Regions from separate parts of the Homo sapiens genome. Here region 1 is linked to region 2. The links are contacts of gene promoters, found by promoter capture Hi-C in blood cells and fetal thymus (Javierre and others, 2016). All regions are on one chromosome and are shown on one strand. Each heading gives the region's core, a stretch centred on a gene start or on the middle of the fragment in contact. The rest is flanking DNA. Distances are from core to core; before and after follow the strand shown.

Region 1 (6,302 bases), core at 3,055-5,554, 54 kb before region 2:
CCCAAAATGACTCTCCACCCTCTTGATGTGAATCAGACAATAAATACCTTTTAGGGTTTTGAACCATTTGAGGGCATGCTTAGTTACTTGGAAAAAGAAGAAACAGGCCGGGCACCAGGGCTCACACCTGTAATCCCAGCACTTTGGAAGGCTGAGGTGGGTGGATCACCTGAGGTCGGGAGTTCGAGACCAGCCTGACCAACATGGAGAAACCCCATCTCTACTAAAAATACAAAATCAGCCAGGCGTGGTGGCGCATGGCTGTAATCCCAGCTACTCAGGAAGCTGAGGCAGGAGAATCGCTTGAACCTGGGAGGCAGGGGTTGCGGTGAGCCGAGATTGTGCCATTGTACTCCAGCCTGGGCAACAAGAGCGAAACTCTTGTCTCAAAAAAAAAACTAAAAAAAGAAGAAGAAACAAATCTGAATGCCTCTGAAGGGCTTCAATTATAAACACTGCAAAGACAGCTTTATGCAACTCCTCAGTGAGGCACCAGCAGCTCCCCAGGTACTCACCAAGGAAGTAGTTCATCATCTGGGGTGTGTGGTGAGGGGTGGGGGCAATCCGTAGGAGCTCTTCTCCCCGGGGCACCGTAGGGTAATTGATTGCTTGCACGTAGATGTTATGTCTGCTCATTAGTTCATCACAGACTTCTGTGTTTTTAGCAGCATCTGCAACCTAAGTTCAATGAGAGCAGAAGGTAAGGTCACAACAGGAAGGACTACCTCTTAGCAGAGATCCTAACGAACGCAGTCCCCACAACGCTCAGGCTCAAGACCAGACTGTAGCAACACATGCAAGCTTGGGGCAGAGGGAAAGCGCTGCCCAAACACCTGTCATTTAAAAGAAGCCAGTGTTGTTTCGTGAACACCAGGGAACCAAAACCTTATTAAAAAGAAATACATTTTTAATCAGAAAACACTGGTTCTGTTCGTACCAGCAGACTCTCATACCCACGATGTATAATCTAGATTCAGTTATACTAGCTGTATTCATTACACTAATTCAACTGTGACATCAACAGTGCTACCATTTGTAGTGGGAAGGGCAAAACCTATTTTGAAATTTACTAAGTAGAAAGCCATACTTCAAAGCTGGCCAAGCTCAGGCTTCTGGAGCTTTCTAGATACAAGCTCTGTGTTTACCCTGTTAAGGTCAGTGCTCCGGAGAGGGAACTTCTGCCCCAGCCTGCTGGGTTCAAAGGCTTTCTTCTCTTGGTGAAGTCAGCCAATGGCGGAAACATGACAGAGGGTGGCTGGCTACAACCCCTGCCCTGGCAGTCACCCCGCTCAAGCCCAACTTCAGGAAGGTATGAAGCAGAACATCCGTACATCATGTGTAGAGGCACACCCCACGGCAAGTCCAATCAGAGACAGGCCATTACCCGCACAGGGATGATGTGGCTGGGGCAGTGGACAACAGGGAGGCCGGCATCCATTAGCATCTGTCTCATGAGTTTGACGTTGCGCTGGTGCTGGCGGCGAAGCACCCGTCCCTCAGCGCTCTTCAGGATCCGCACAGACTCCAGGGCTCCAGCCAGCAGCATGGGTGGCAGAGAGGTGGTGAAGATGAAGCCAGCAGCATAGGACCGTACGGTGTCAATCAGAGAACTCGTGCTGGCGATGTACCCTCCAACACAACCAAAGGCTTTGCCTGGGAGGAGATAGCTTCATTAATTACAGCAACAGCTGTAAATTGCTCTAAATGGACACAGCAAGGTGTTGTGGAGCCTCAAAGCACTGACTTTTCTCCTTATCTTTTTAATTTGTTCCTGGACTGATTGGAGTAGTCATGCACCACATTAATGATGTCTCAGTCAATGACGACCACATATATGATGGTGGTCCCATAAGATTATAATACTGTATTTTTACTGTACCTTTTCTATGTTTAGGTATGTTTAGATACACAAATACCATGGTGTTGCCAACAGTATCCAATACAGTAACATGTTGTACAGGTTTGCAGCCTAGGAGCAACACGCCATACCACAAAGCCTAGGTGTGCGGTAGGCTATATAATCTAGGTTTATGTAAGTACACTCTATGGTGTTTGCACAATGATGAAATCGCCTAGTGATGCAATTCTCAGAACACATCCCCCATCGTTAAGCAATGCATGACTATAAAAGGATATCTAATCTTCCTTTTTTTTTTAGAGACAGGGTCTTGCTCTGTCACCCAGGCTGGAGTGCAGTGGCATGATCATAGCTCTCTGCAGCCTCAACCTCCTGGGCTCAAGTATTCCTTCCGCCTCAGCCTCCCAAGTAGCTAGGACAGGTGTACACCACCATGCCTGGCTGATTTTTTAAATTTTTATTTTGTGTAGAGAGGAGGCCATGCTTCGTTGCCCAGGGCTGGTCTCAAACTCCTGGGTTCAAGTGATCCTCCTGTCTCAGCCTCCCAAAGTGCTGGGATTCAGGTGTGAGCTATCGTGCCTGGCTACTCACTTTTAAAAGGGTAAAAAAGCTAAGGAAAGTTACAAAAGGGTCTTGCCCAAAGTCATATGGCCAAGCTGGTGTCTAACCAGGATCAAAATGCAGGTCTTCCAATCAGACCTGACACCTCAGTGACTGGTCCCAGTGTGCCCAAATACCCTGCTGCTGCCTCCCTTCCCACCATCTTATTCTCCTTTCCCTTTCTCACCCAGGCTTGCTGCTCTGACAGCCAGCACAGCTCCACTCCCCATGTCTGCACTGCATGTGCTCTTTGGAACAAGACTGGCTCTGCAGTGCTTGTACCATCCTCCCACAGGGAACATTATCCCAGAGGCTGGAATTTTACCCAGCTAAGGCATTAACTGTTTTGGTATGACTGGTGTTATTTCCTACTTAAGAACAAAACTCTTGACAATTAATGCATTAGGATTGATTTAGGGCCAGACTTGGTTTTCAATTCTCATTGAGTCCTTTTGTGTGATCTACATCTCAAGTTTCAGGATTAAAAACTCCAGAAGAGGCCAGGTGCAGTGGCTCACACCTATAGTCCCAGAACTTTGGGAGGCCGAGGGGGGCAAATCACTTGAGCTCAGGAGTTAGAGACCAGCCTGGCCAACATGGTGAAACCCCGTTTCTACTAAAAATACAAAAATTAGCCAGGCATGCTAGCGCACACCTGTAGTCTCAGTTATTCAGGAGGTTGAGGTGGGAGGATCACTTGAGCCCAGGAGGTGGAGGCTGCAGATGAGCTGTGATCACACCTGGGCACAGAGTGAGAGCCTGTCTCAAAAAACAAAAAGAACTCCAGAAGAGTCTTCATAGATCTTAACATAACATTCTATAATTAATGTTTTTGCTAAAACCACATGCAAAGCTGGGTTGGTTCAATCTCCTATGGTATAAAGTTTCTCTCTCCAGCCTTTTCCATCTCACAATGACCATACCTTCAAAGAGCCCACATCAGGAGACATCCTTAAAAGAAAAGAGCTTCTGGCCGGGTGTGGTGGCTCACGCCTGTAATCCCAGCACTTTGGGAGGCTGAGGCGGGCAGATCACGTGGTCAGGAGATTGAGAACATTCTGGCTAACACGGTGAAACCCCGTCTCTACTACAAATACAAAAAATTAGCCAGGCATGGTGGCGGGTGCCTGTAGTCCCAGCTACTTGGGAGGCTGAGGCAGTAGAATGGCATGAACCTGGGAGGTGGAGCTTGCAGTGAGCTGAGATCGCGCCACTGCACTCCAGCCTGGGCAACAGAGTGACACTCCATCTCGGAAAAAAAAGAAAAAAAAGAAAAGAGCTTCTTGAATTAAGACACATGATCAGGTGTTTTTCTCCTGGTAGTGGTTCCACCCTTAGAACTCCCAGGCTTTCTGGGTCTGCACTAGGTTCTCATACCCCTTGACAGTGCTGAAGGACGCTTTTTAAAAAGCCTGCCCTTCCTTTACCAAGCATAGGCTATAAACTGGCATTTTAGCTAACTGCTAGATGGGTTTCCAACTGCCTTACCCACTTCTGAAGGCTTAAAAAAATTCTTCAAAATTACAAAAATTCTTCAAATTTATGTAATTTTCGTCTCTTTAGGGTTCTCATAGGTTCTCAGAGGGAATGTTTATAATAACTGTTTGCATACAACTTATTTACCTTCTCCACATATATTTTGATTTAGGTCCTATTGTTTTCTCCATTATATTGATGATGAAACTGAGGTATAGAAAGGTTAACTACCAACTCAAGGTCACACAACTAGTGAGGTGGCAGGGCTCCAAAGTCTAGCTCCCATCTACCACGAGACATAGCCTCTGTATGAGGAAGAGCAGAGGAAAACCAGGATGAATTAGAATGTTCCCACGTGGCAGGCACGGAGTTCAGCACTTCACAACACCTGAACCTAACAAGTGCTCCAGGAGAAAAGTACTAGAATTCCTTTTTCTTTTTAATTAAGAACAGCCTGAGGCACAGAGAGTACAGGCTCTTGCCATGGCATGGGGCTAGACCCACAACTATGTCTGAAATGAGCTCAGATAGCAATAAATGGTCTATCAGTGTGTTAGGCTGTGGGATTTACTTTGATTCTAAGAGCCATGCCTCCATGACCCAAGGGATTCCACTAAGCTGGGCCAAAAGAAAGAGTGGCCCAGGCTTCATATGCTGTCAGGCTGTCTCCTCACCTGATCCCAGTTAGACTAGTTAGTCCTTGGCCTTGTTAGGATAATGGAATTTTAGTGTATGTAATACAATGTATACATACCAAGTGTTCCAGAAATGATGTCCATTTTTGGCATGACTCCATCCCGATCCCCAATCCCTCCGCCTCGAGCCCCATAAAGCCCCACTGCGTGGACCTCATCCACGAAGGTGATTGCTCCAAACTCATGGGCCACATCACACAGCTCTTCCAGTGGGCACACCGCCCCTGAGGAAAGACCAGAGACTGCTCTGAAGAGCTTTTGCCGCTTCAGAAATTTCTGTTTTGGTTAGAGTCAGAACAACGTAAACTTCTATTCTAAGGTATCATTTTCAATATTGGAAAGAAAATGAACTTCCTCTAATTTCTAGGTTACCTGGGGTCCCAGAGCCTAGTAAAAGCCAGAATAGAAAATCCACTTTCACCCAAATCTATTAGAAAAAAGTCCACCAATTACAAATCTTGGCAGAATGCAATACTACACAGCAATAAAAAAAGAATGAGACCATGTCCTTTACAGCAATACGGATGGAGCTAGAGGCCATCCTAAGTGAATTAATACAGGAACGGAAAAACCAAATATCGCTCTCACTTATAAGTGGGAGCTAAACACTGAGAACACATGGACACAAAGAAGGGAACAACAGACACCAGGGACCGACTTGAGGGTGGAGGGTGGGAGGAGGGTGAGATCAAAAACTACCATTGGGTACTATGCTTACTACCTAGGTGATGAAATAATTGGTACACCAACACCCTGTGACACATAATTTACCCATATAATAAACCCGCACATGTACCCACTGAACCTAAAAGTTGGAAGAAGAAAAAAAAAAATCCTGGCAGAAAGGAAAAGAAAATTAAAAAACACAACAGGCCAGGCGCGGTGGCTCACGCCTGTAATCCCAGCACTTTGGGACGCCAAGGTGGGCGGATCACAAGGTCAGGAGATTGAGACCATCCTGACTAACACAGTGAAACCCCGTCTACTAAAAATACAAAAAGTTAGGCCAGGTGCGGTGGCTCACACCTGTAATTCCAGCTCTTTGGGAGGCTGAGGCGGGCAGATCACAAGGTCAGTAGATCGAGACCATCCTAGCTAACATGGTGAAACCCTGTCTCTACTAAAAATACAAAAAATTAGCTGGGCGTGGTGGCAGGCGCCTGTAGTCCCAGCTACTCAGGAGGCTGAGGCAGGAGAATGGCGTGAACCCAGGAAGTGGAGCTTGCAGTGAGCCGAGATCACGCCACTGCACTCCAGCCTGGGTGACAGAGGGAGACTCCGTCTCAAAAAAAAAAAAAAAAAAAATTAGCCAGGCGTGGTGGCAGGTGTCTGTAGTCCCAGCTACTCGGGAGGCTGAGGCAGGAGAATGACGTGAACCCGGGAGGCGGAGCTTGCAGTGAGTCGAGATCGCACCACTGCACTCCTGCCTGGGCAACAGAGCGAGGATCGGTCACAAAAAAAAAAAATTAAAAAACACAACAAAACACCATACTTTTAAAGAGTTCAGGCATAGTTTTTCATCTTAGGTTTCAGAGGAACCTCTATCCACACTTACCATCCATTGAATGGACAGTTTCAAATGCCACAATCTTGGGGACTGAGGGGTCAGATCTTTGCAGCAGTTCTCTGAGGTGGCTGACATCATTGTGGCGGAAGATGTACTTTGGCACTCG
Region 2 (6,413 bases), core at 1,596-4,095:
TTTTAGTAGAGATGGGGTTTCACCATGTTGGCCAGGCTGGTCTCGAACTTCTGACCTCAGGTGATCCACCCAACTCGGCCTCCCAAAGTGTTGGAATTACAGGCGTGAGCCACCTTGCCCAGGCTTTTTTCTTTTTCTGTTGTGGGAATTTAGCCAATTCAGAGGCCTTGTTCCCCAAACTTTGGAACTTTCCTTCAGATTTGATCAAGTCAGATATAATTCATCAACCTCAATGGGAAAAAGAATGAAACAACAAAAACAGAAACAAACAACAACAAAAAACAGTTAAGCAAAAAAAAAAAAAGTGATCGCACAATTTGTTTATTTATTTTATTTATTTTATTTTTTTTTGAGACGGAGTCTCGCCCTGTCGCCCAGGCTGGAGTGCAGGGGCTTGATCTAGGCTCACTGCAAGCTCCGCCTCCCGGGTTCATGCCATTCTCCTGCCTCAGCCTCCCGAGTAGCTGGGACTACAGGCGCCAGCCACCACGCCCTGTAATTTTTTGTATTTTTAGTAGAGACGGGGTTTCACCGTGTTAGCCAGGATGGTCTGCGATGTCCTGACCTCGTGATCCACCCGCCTTGGCTTCCCAAAGTGCTGGGATTACAGGCGTGAGCCACCATGCCGGGCTTGATCGTACAATTTATATGATTACTGAGCACTCTAATGGTAAGGAAAATTAAGACCAGCTGGTTGTTAACCTTAACTTCAGCCAAGAAAATCCCCAATTCGGCTACTTACCTAAGAACAGGTCTTAGGCTAAAGACTGCTCTCTACCATCCCAGAAGTAGGGAAAACTCAAACTTTCCTTCTCTGTTGGAAGCGAGCTCAAACTCCAGAAAGGAGTTACCTGCCTTCCATCGTCAGGGAAGCAGGAAAACCTGCCTTCCTTGTTGGAAACAAGTAAAACTCCAGAAAAAGGAGTTGTACAGTAAAATAAACTTTAGATGTTAACCAAATTTGGGAAGATCAGGAATTTTGTGGAGGGGGGCTCCCAGGCCTTAGCAAATTGTCCTGTAGATTTGAGCCATAAAGATAGCTCAAGCTGGTACCAAGCACCGATAGGAGATCTGTCAAAGGTCAGGGGCACCTCCACTCAGAATCCTTTCGTGGTTGCCAAACTGTCAACCCGAAATACCTGAGACAGGTCTCAGTCAACTTAGAAAATTTATTTTGCTAAGGTTAAGGACACACCCATGACACAGCCTCAGGAGGTCCTGACAACATGTGCCCAAGTGGCCTGGGCACAGCATGGTTTTATACATTTTAGGGAGACAAAATACATCAATCAATACATGTAAGATTTACATTGGTTTGATCTGGAAGGACAAGACAACTCGAAGTGGGAAACTTCCAGGTCATTGGTAGATTTAAACATATTCTGATTGGCAATTGGTTGAAATAATTATTATCAGTAGAAAGGGATATCTCGGTTAAGATAAGGGGTTATGGAGACCAAGGTTTTACCATGCAGATGAAGCCTCCAGGTAGCAGGTTTCAGAGAAAATAGATCGTAAATGTTTCTTATCAGACTTAAGGTTTTTGTTGATGTTAATGCTGGAGGGTATAATGAGGCATGTCCAACCCCCACTTCCCATCATGGCCTGAACCACTCTTTCAGGTTAAATTTGAGTGCCCTGGCCAAGCAGGGAGTCTATTCAGATGGTTGCTGGTGGCCTTCAAATTTTATTTTATATATATATATATTTTTTGAGACGGAGTCTCCCTCTGTTGCCCAGGCTGGAGTGCAGCGGCAACATCTAGGCTCACTGCAATCTCTGCCTCCGGAGTTCGAACAATTCTCCTCCCTCAGCCTCCCGAGTAGCTGGGTTTACAGGCGCGTGCCACCACGCCCGGCTAATTTTTGTATTTTTAGTAGACATGGGGTTTCACCATGTTGGCCAGGCTGGTCTCATACTCCTGACCTCAGGTGATCCACCCACCTCGGCCTCCCAAAGTGGCAAAGTGCTGAGATTACAGGCGTGAGCCACTGAGCCCGGCCTCTCCTTCTTTTAAAGACTGGGTTTCTAACAGCTTCTGAGGCCTTAAGGATCCTGACAGGGCCGGGCTGCACCACACTCCCTCGTGTTACAAATGGGGAAACCGGGGCACAGAGCAGAGGCGTTTTTCCTGAGATCACACAGCCAATCAGGGCGAGAACTGAGAATCGAACCTTGATCTCTCCACTCCATGATTGTGATTCCGAGTAACTCATGTTATTTTAAATCGACACTTGTCTTAAGAACGTTCGGACGGCGAACCACTGAGAGTTCCCGAGGGGCGAATACTCAGCTCTCAATAGGTTCCTGCGGGGAAAATCTGGCTGCGCCGGCGCGCGCGGGTGCTTTAACGCAATCTGGTTACAGCAACCCACGTGTCCTCCGCTTCCGGGATCCTTAAGGCCGTCGCTTCGGGTGGTAAAACCCGGCCCGCCCTCTTGTTGCCCAGGCTGGAATGCAATGGTGCAATCTCATGTTGGGAAGTGTAGCTCCACCTTCCTCCAGACATAGGGGCGTGGGCGGCTTGGAACTGCATTTCCCAGGAGGCTGCGCTCGCCGTTAGAGTAGCCGGACGACGGGCTGGTGGGGTGAACCCTTCATCCTGGGTCTTTTAATTTCTCAGGCGGAACGAGTGGCGGCGGACAGAGGCTTTTGGCTGCGCTGTCTGTGGGTTGTCTGGGCTTGGGGAACTGGGCACGGAGACCGTGGCGCCGGCCGCCGGTCATACAGCTCTGCTTCCAGTCGTCGGGCAAAAAGCTGAGGCGCTTCTCCTTTAATTGCGGTGGGCGGGGCGTGCCGACGCGGCCCGCGTTGCTATTGGTGGCCGTTGGGGGCGCGGAAACTGAACGGGCCGCAACGGCCACCGCAGCTGCCTTCGGCGCCGCCAGCCCCGCCATGGCTGCGCCCTGCGCGGTAAGCCCAGCCGAGAGCAACTCCCCAGGCCTCAGTCTCCCCGCTGGGACACTGGGCGCCTAATGGCCAGAGCGATGGCTGCGAGGGGCGGGCGGGGCGCCAGGTTCCAGGGTGGTCCTCTTCAGGTCCAGTTTACTGTCTGCGCAGGGGGCGCTGGGTCGGGCACTTTCTGAGCGCCTCCTGCGTGCCAGGCCCTGCGCTGGGTTTCTGGAGCGAACAAACAGGCCTCTGCCTCCATAGTTTGCATCCTAGCGAGGGACACACGACCAAGTCCCGACTCATGTGTGACCTGGGGCCGGTATCGGGCCTCTCTAGCCATTCTCCACGTCCTTAGCAGTGGGTGGCTGCGTGGGGTCTTGTTGAGGGTACACCCTGCTCCAGCAGGTAGGTACAGCAGGACGCTGGGATGCCCGGGCCTGCAGTGTGAGCGGGGCGGAGCCGCCCTCTCTGAGTTCACATTCCTCCAGAAGTCCTCATTTCGAGAGATTCCTTTGAACGGGCAAGGCCCTCTGGCTGATTGGAGAGTCAGGGAGGCTGGGTGGTAGCCTGTGATGCCCTGAGGCACTTGAGGACATGGACGGAGATTCCAGGCTAGGATACAGACCTTTTGACTCCTAATCTGGTACTCTACCTCCCTTCCTGTCCCCTCATGTATAAACCACTGTTGAGGGAGATGAGGCCCACATGCAGGGAACTACAGAGGGGAGGCGGTGTTGAGAGATACCATGGGACCTACTGGTCAGGGGTGGACCTGAACTTGCCTCTGCCCACTGAGCCTAGGGGCGGACACTCTCTTACGCATGTTCTTTCAAGAAGCTTAGGTGAGAGCAGAAGGCTCTGTTGGGGACCCTCCCCCAGCTGCTCCTCCCTCTGTTGTTGAAAGGAGACTCTGACAGGTGCGTTAGGGGTGGAGCTGGGCACAAGGCCATAGGGCCTTTGTTCTGGTTACTGCTCTGTAGGGTGGCAGTGGCTTTGCTGTGCCCCAAGGACATCCTTTCCCAGGAGGAGCCTTTGGGCTTCCTGGAGCACCCAAAATGCTTCTTTGAGGTTTCTGATACTTAGAGTAGGGGGAGATGTTTGGATGGCTGAATTATAACCCTTCAAGTGTTAAGACACAAGCTGCTATTGGATGGAGAGAGTCTCCGGAGTATTCTCTCTGGTGTTTTAACTTTATTAAGTTATTCATACACCACAGAATTCACCTTTTAAAGTGTACATTTCAGTAGTTTTTAGTACATTCACAGTGTTGTGCAACTGTAATCACTAATTCCAGAATATTTTCATCATCCCAAAAAGAAACTCCATACTCAATAACAGTCATACCATTTCTTCTCTTTCCCCATTTTCTCCCAACCCTTGGCAAACTAATATATTAATACTTTCTGTCTCTATAGATTTGACTATTCTGAACTTTTCATATGAATGGAATCAGACAAAATGTGGCCTTTGGTGTTTGACTTCTTTCACTTAGCATGTTTTCAAGGTTCATCCATGTTGCAGCAAGCATCAGCACTTCAGTCGGTTTTATGGCTGAATAATATTCTGTTGTATGAATATGCTACATTTGGTTTATTCAGTCATGTGTTGATGGATCATTTGGGTTCAATCACTTGTTGGCTATTAAGGAAAATGCTGCTCTGAACATTTGTGTACAAGTTTTTGTGTAAACCATGTTTTCAACTCTTTGGGGTATTTACCTAGAATTGCTGGGTCATTTGCTAACCACGTTTAACTACTTTATTTTTTATTTTATTTATTTATATTTATTTTATTTATTTATTTTTTGATTAGGAGTCTCACTCTGTCGTCCAGGCTGGAGTGCACTGGTGCAATCTCGGCTCACTACAACCTCCTCCTCCTGGGTTCAAGCGATTCTCCTGCCTTAGCCTCCCAAATAGCTGGGACTATAGGCGCCCACCACCACGCCTAGCTAATTTTTGTATTTTTAGTAGAGAGGGGTTTTCACCATGTTGGCCAGGCTGATCTTGAACTCTTGACCTCAGGTAATCTGCCCGCCTTGGCCTCCTAAAGTGCTGGGATTACAGGCGTGAGCCACTGTGCCCGGCTAACTACTTTTTTTTAGTCAGGGTCTTGCTCTGTTGCCCAGGCTGGAGTGCAGTGATGTGATCACAGCTCACTGCAACCTTGAACTCCTGTGCTCAAGCAGTCCTCCCACCTCACCCTCCTGAGTAGCTGAGAATACAGGCATGAGCCACTACGTGTGGCTAATTCTTTAATTTTTTTGTAGGGTCAGGGTCTTGCTGTGTTGCCCAGGTTGGTCTTGAACCCCTGGCTTAAAGTGATCCTCCTGCCTCAGCCTCCCAAAATGTGGGGATTACAGGTGTGAGCCACTTCACCTGACCTATGTTTAACTTTTTGAGGAACTGCCAAATTACTTTCTATAGTATCTGTGTTTTTTGTTTGTTCGTTTGTTTGTTTGTTTTTAAAGATTTTTTTTTTTTTCTGGGTGTCTTGCATTTTCATGTGAATCTTGGGAGCAGCTTGTCAGTTTCTGCAAAAAAGACACCTGGGATTTTGATAGGAATTATGTGGAATCGGTAGATCAATCTGAGGAGTATCGTAGTATTGTATCTTAACAATAGTAAGTCTTCCTGTTCATGAATGTGGAATGTCTTTCCATTTTTTAAGTCTTCTTTCATTTCTCTTAGTGATGTTTTGTCGTCTTTACTGTACAAGTCCTGCACTTCTTTTGTTAAATTATTCCTTTTTTTTTTTTTTTTTTTGAGACGGAGTCTCGCTCTGTCACCCAGGCTGGAGTGCAGTGGCACAATCTCTGCTCACTGCAAGCTCCGCCTCCTGGGTTCACACCATTCTCCTGCGTCAGCCTCCTGAGTAACTGGGATTATAGGCGCCTGCCACCATGCCCGGCTAATTTAAAATATTGCTATTTTTTTTATGTATCATAAATAGTTTTATTTTTTGGATTATTCATTGCTAGTGTACAGAAAGACAATTGATTTTTGTGTCTTGATTTTGTATCTTGCAACTTTGCTGAACTCATTTGTTTTTTGTTTTTGTTGAAGCATTTCCACAGTTGATGTATTAATTCAAATAGTAAAAACTATTCCTAGTAAAAACTAATCCTAAGTGGATTCCTTAGGATTTTCTTTATATAAGATCATGCCTTGAGCATTTTTAACCCTACTCCCCCGGCTGTTGTAGGAAGAGTGCTGGCCCTGGGGAAGCCCCTTCCTCACCCAGGCTTCACACATTTGACCCTGGCTCTCTCTCAGGAGGACCCCTCGCTGGAAAGGCATTTTAAGGGCCACCGAGATGCAGTTACCTGTGTGGACTTCAGTATCAACACAAAGCAGCTGGGTAAGAAGAGGCACCCTGTCTAGGTGCTAGGTTATGAGCTGAACAGGCCAAGTTTTTACCTCGGAGGGGTGGTGGGTGGGAAGCAGAGCACAAGGACTGCACAGCTTTGTCTAGACCTGCTTCTAGTCTTGCTTCTGCTTGCCAGCTCTTTGGGCACTGGG

Evidence for each region. Contacts are between HindIII fragments. The CHiCAGO score rates a contact against its expected background, and 5 or more counts as called.
Region 1: a contact is called between a fragment that was not itself captured here and the fragment with the promoter of POC1A in region 2, in 1 of 17 cell types (M2 macrophages). The highest score is 5.2, in M2 macrophages.

Annotation. Positions count from the first base shown.
Region 1 is chr3:52,206,634-52,212,935 of GRCh38, reverse strand. It overlaps ALAS1 (5'-aminolevulinate synthase 1), which reads right to left. Exons shown (of 12, transcript NM_000688.6): 8 at 6,185-6,302; 9 at 4,689-4,853; 10 at 1,385-1,653; 11 at 516-678. Among named protein-coding and RNA genes, the nearest start is that of ALAS1, 12 kb to the right of the region's middle. RefSeq lists an enhancer at 1,909-2,203. The HindIII fragment of the contact is 7,002 bases long and covers 804-6,302 here.
Region 2 is chr3:52,150,855-52,157,267 of GRCh38, reverse strand. POC1A (POC1 centriolar protein A) reads left to right here and starts at 2,845. Exons shown (of 11, transcript NM_015426.5): 1 at 2,845-2,913; 2 at 6,168-6,252. The coding sequence starts at 2,896. RefSeq lists enhancers at 1,498-2,474, 2,475-3,452. The HindIII fragment of the contact is 9,340 bases long and covers 1-3,731 here.